Linked DNA regions of Homo sapiens: region 1 is linked to region 2. The links are contacts of gene promoters, found by promoter capture Hi-C in human tissues and cell types (Jung and others, 2019). All regions are on one chromosome and are shown on one strand. The core of a region is centred on a gene start or on the middle of the fragment in contact, and the rest is flanking DNA. Distances in the headings are between cores, read along the strand shown.

What was found. Contacts are between HindIII fragments. The study calls those that stand out against the background at their distance.
Region 1: a fragment that was not itself captured here is called in contact with the fragment with the promoter of KCNH8 in region 2 in 1 of the 25 tissues and cell types used here (dorsolateral prefrontal cortex).

The regions. Positions count from the first base shown.
Region 1 is chr3:19,195,809-19,198,508 of GRCh38, reverse strand. The region is part of intron 1 of KCNH8 (potassium voltage-gated channel subfamily H member 8); the gene reads right to left. Among named protein-coding and RNA genes, the nearest start is that of KCNH8, 49 kb to the right of the region's middle. The HindIII fragment of the contact is 6,856 bases long and covers 1-2,700 here.
Region 2 is chr3:19,147,209-19,149,908 of GRCh38, reverse strand. KCNH8 (potassium voltage-gated channel subfamily H member 8) reads right to left here and starts at 1,399. Exons shown (of 16, transcript NM_144633.3): 1 at 1,114-1,399. The coding sequence starts at 1,189. RefSeq lists enhancers at 1,957-2,550, 2,551-2,700. The HindIII fragment of the contact is 8,005 bases long and covers 1-2,700 here.

The DNA.
Region 1 (2,700 bases), core at 23-2,522, 49 kb before region 2:
TAGGAAAGGGTCCAAATCTTTTTTTTAAACGGCAGGATGGACCTCTGTGACTTCTCCAGCTTTATTTTGTACCACAGCCAAACCTGAACCCACTGCGGTTGTCTTGCACTGCAATGTTGGTTCCGCCTTGTTTGCTCTACTTGCTTGGTTGGAATAATACCCCATTTTTACCACCCAACTCCTCCAGTTCAAGGCTTAAGCATTACTTCCTTCAAGAAACCACCACTATCTTACTCTCCCTCTGCATCCTGTCCCTATACATAAAGTTCAGCAATGGACTGCCCCTCTTTATTCATTTATTAATTTTTCTGTACTGGGTGTTAAATGCTCTGAAGATTGGAATGGTTATTTGTCCATTATGAATCAATAGGTTTTATCTCTATGTCAGGCACATGACGAATACTCAATAAATGTTTGCAATTGGAGACCTATAAAAAATTATAACATGCTAGAATTATTGCAGCAGTCCTTAATCCAACCTTTCCGAAAACCTTTCCCACACCTTGCTGCAAACTGTTTAAACACTGCCTTTGATACACAAAACCCTGCTCAAAAGCATTTGTCAATAGCTCCTCTTTACCCAGTGATTACGCATCAGATTTGTAAAAAATACTGCACAAATTTTAAAAAATTATTTCTTTCCACAAATAACTTAAAATTTAGTTGGAAAAAAGTAAGCCAAGAAATAGTAAAATAGAAATAATATCAACAATAACAGTAAAATTTTATACAACTTTGAAGCAAATATATCTGTAAGGACTCGACATGTATTAACTTATGTAATTCCAACAACAATCCAATTACATAGGAACTCTCACGGTCTTCCTAGAGATAAAGAAACCAAACCACCGAGAATTTAGATAACTTGCCCAAGGTTGTAGAGAAAGGAAGTGGCAAAGTTGGGATTTGAAGCCAGGAAGTCCAGCTCCAAAACCTGTATTCTTAACTACTGCACTAAATTGCCTTTAAGGACATGATGCACAAATGCTTACATACCCCAAAGACAACTGTTAATATTAACTGCTAAATGTCTAAACAGACACGTGCTAACTTTTAGAGGAGGCAACAATGGCTCCAATGCCAGATAGATTTGGGGAAACTTTATGGGAGAGATAAAAATTCACTGAAAATGATTTTTCAAGGTTTATTAGGTTCAGCAAAACAGAGTACAAGAAGGCCTCATAACAGAGAAAACTAAATCCGAGAAAACAAAGATGACTAAGAATAAGGTGTGTTGCTTGTGAGATAATATTGGAGGGTATAGAGGGCAAAATTGTTGGGGGTGGATTAAATTCTGGAGTCAACAGTTCAAAATATTTCTAACTGACCATGGAAGTCACTGAGGGGAAGGACAAAGAGAAATAAAGCATTTTTTTCAGAATAATAATCTTTCAGTAGCTTGTAAAGCAAAAATCAAAGGCAACAGATTGGAGAAAATGAGCTTACTTGAACACTAATGTACAGAGTTGGACAGAAGTAATAGGACCCCTGTTTTACCTATCACTTCTTTCCTCTGTAAATCTGAATTTGGGAAATTCTGAATTTGAAGTTGGAAAATCTGGATTTAAATTCCACCTCTGCTATTTATTAGCTATGTTTACATTACTGGATACTAAAAGTGTAATATTTCCTATTTGGTAAAATCAAGTTGTTAAAGGATAATTTTTTAAAAGATAAAATCCCTCAAACAAACATAAAGCATATAGGTATCAAACATTTTATTTAACTTATTAATTAACAAGATAATCAGTCAACTAGTTGGATTTTTTTGGATTCTCAAAGGAGAATCCAGAGAACCACACAAATAGACTAAAAACTGGGTTCTTCCACGGCGGAGAAAGGAAGTCAATTTAGCCTCCACCAAGCATGATGTATTCACACATCCACAGACAATAATCACATGCACTTCTATCCACTTTCCACAGTTTACAGAGTTGTAATTATTTTAAAGACAATAAACAGTACAGAGACCTCCATATAAACATAACCAGGAAGGATGTGCTAAAGGAAATCTAGGTTTCCAATGAAGCCAAGATCTTTTTTTTTTTCATTTCAGTCTTTCACTGAGTAAAAGTACCTATCTCATTACATTGGTGCTGAGCATTAAGTGATAATACCTATGATATTGGATTAGAGCAGAAATTTGAAACTTCCGAACACATGGGATTAGATGTCACTTTTCCTCTCCTCACCTCCTAAATAGTACCTAATCCTTTTATCAATATATATGTGAACTAGAAGATTCAGAAAAAGAGTAGAACTATTTCTTTTATGAGGTTTAGGCATATGCAAGTATCCTGGCCACTTTTGGAGTGGTAGAGGAAGACAATAACTGAACAAAGGAGAGGCTTGAGTCTCTTGAAGAGAATCTGGCACAAGAAAAGAAATGTCAGCCTGGCCCAATAAGCCAGACTTGGCAACAGGGTTTTGAGTTTCAGACAGAGTACTTTCTTATAAGAAAAATAAACTAACTTGGGCTATTTTAATTTTTTTAAAAAAGGAAATGAACAAAACATACTCAGGAAGTAGATAGACAGATATTAGATTTACAGAATCTGCAAGAAGGCTAGAAGAAGATGCAAACTGAAAAAAGACCAGGACACAGGAAAGATCTTAGCTGGAGGACCAAGGAACAGGAAAATCCAATTACAAGACTGATGATTCTGAAAGAAATGACGAGTACTGGAAACCACTGACATC
Region 2 (2,700 bases), core at 150-2,649:
CTACTGGAGTGGAAATGAAATTAGTATTGCTCTCCCATATCAGCTCCAAGAAATATACAGAGTAAAAGCAATGACACTTGAACCACTAAGAAGGACTTTAGGATAAATGAGTTTCTCTGAGTCTCAACAGAAAAATGGAAGACAGTGCACAGAAGCAAGATAAGCTAGAAAGAAGATGAGGATATTCGTAGTGAAACCAACTGAGAGCATTTGTTAGGGGTGGTAGTACAGACTCCTAATTACAGGGTTAAAGCCAGCTAGGAAGATCCACAGGGTCAAGTAGAGAGCTTGAAAAGCCTGAGAAGGAGTGGGGACCTGACCGTGGTCCTGAAAGAGAACAACTTGCAGATGATAACGAACCGTCTGCTAGCAACCACACAACATCCTATCTATTTTTTTTCCTACTGTAGCTTAAATGAGCTAAATGTCCAATAATATTCGTACTCAAAAAAAAAAAACTAAAAACTTTCTCTTATCATCAAATCGTCTTTATTCATGTCCTTCTTCCTGAACAGCCTCTGCTTGAGTGTTAGGCTCATTTAAGGATTAAAAGATACGCTATTCTAGCTCAAAAGCAGGAATCAAGGTTCTGACAAACTCACAACACTTAAAATTCTACAGAAAGCTTACACTTGGCAATCCTGCATTTCTTAAACTCAGATAGAAAATCATACCTATCCGAAATATATCACGGAATGAAGCTCCAAGAAAGAACACTCCAAGCTCTCCTTTTGATCTAGGGAGCCTTGAAACTCTAGAAAGATTAGGTACACCGATATTCCCCTTTTCACCTCAGAAAATTACAACCAATTCCCTAAAGATACACCAAAATGCAGGTCCCACAGTGAATACGGGCGTCGGTCTTTCCTCAGGCTGCGTTTCAGTCCTTAACAAACCCAAGAACTCAAGAGAGCCAACTATTACACCAATACAAAGTGTTAATACTACACCAAACCATGAGGGAACAAATTTCTCCGCACAAAAGATACCTTGGCAAGAACAGAAGAAAATTCACTCCGCTGGTGCAAAAGGGAAGGTGGGAGCAAAAGTAATGTGTACGAGAAAAATCAGTCTCAGAAAATGCCATACCACTCGTTCAAGTGTAAGACTTACGTGTTCCGTCAAAACGGGTGGCGATGGTGTCCAGGAAGGTGTTTTGCGGCGCCAGTAATCCTTTCATAACCGGCATTTTTCCAGCGTGGTGTGAAATTCTCCATCAAAGTTTGTCCAGAAGGATGGTTCGAAAGGAAAGTGCCAAGAAGGGAGAAGGGGAACCTGATGACGGCAGGGAAGGGGGACCCGGCCTGACGGCGGGGCCGAGCAGGGGAAGTGGAAGGATGGAGGGAGAAAGGGAGAGAGTTCCAGCCGCCCCGGCTGTGGCAGGAGGAGCCCCAAGAGCGCTCCCCGAGCCCGCCCCGCACCTCCAGGCTCAGCCCGGCGCAGGCTCCCTCTCCCGCCCCCTCCACCCCCGCCAGCTGCTGAAACCCCCCCACCGTCCCTCCGCGGGCAACAGTGCCCGCCAGGCGCCGCCGCGCGGTGCCTCGCCCCCCACGTCGCCCGCCCGGAAAGAGCCCGCAGTGGCCCGGGGCGCCGCGCCCTGACCGACGTCTCTGGGGTCTGGGAGGGCGGCGCTGAGAGCTGGGAGAGGCGCTGAGCCTCCCGGTCTCCACGGGACGCCGGGAAAGGAGAGCGAGCGCAACTCCCACGCCCCGGGAGCCAGTGAACAAAGACCCCTTTGTTCCCTCTCCGTCCCACTCCCGGGGAGACTGGAGTCCCGTGGGTGTGGTATTGGAGAAAGGGAGGAGACAGGTCGGGGCAGGTATCCGGCCTCAACCTAGAACTTAGGAGGGGGAGGCCCCCCAGTGGTGTCCAAGGGAGCAGAGGCAGCCAGGAGCCCCACGGGGAGGCGGCCCCCTTCCGGAGCACTTGCCATTGCGAGCCCACGCGACAGGGGCAGGGCAGCCCGAGTTAGTTGTGAGGCCCATCCCCAGTCACCAGGGTCTTTTAGTCCGGGAAACTGGCCCCGAGCTCCAAAAAGGGGTGCTTCAGCCCTTCTCCCCAAATTGCCATTGGCCTCCCCAAGCCATCCCAAACTTTAAAAAAATAGCCTTTTGAACGGACAATGGATGGTTTCCCATTCTCCGGTAAAATGTGAATAAAGCATTTCTAGAAAAGTTTGCTATTTTTATTAATTTGCAAAATACCACGTAAGTAAAAACAGTAAGGCTGCCTTCCAAAAATAGCTTCAAACACAAATCCCCTAGCCTGCCCCCCTTTCCCCAGCCCCCACTCCCGAAGACTGACACCTCCAAGAAGAAAGCCTGGCGGACGGCCAGGAACTGAAGGCGTCTCAGAAAACGAAAGTGGTCTCTCCCAGTCCTCCCCCCTGGCCCCCCCCGCGGGGACTCCCTCTCGGCCAACGTTCTGCGGGGAAAGTCGCCCAAGCCTGCGGCACAGCCCTGTGGGGAGTGCAAGGGGACACCCAGAGCCCGAACTTTATAGAAAACTCTGCAAGGGAGGTGGAGTGTGGAAGGGAAGTTGAGAGCCCCAGGGTAGAAAAACAAACGTAAGCCCAGGTGCTAGTGCACCCGGAAGGAAAGGAGGGAAAAAGCAAACAGGTGTCAGAGCCGCGGCGAGGCAGCTCTGATCTCCAGGAACTCGGGCGTGGCGGGAGGAGGGAGGGAGGGCCCACCCCCCGCC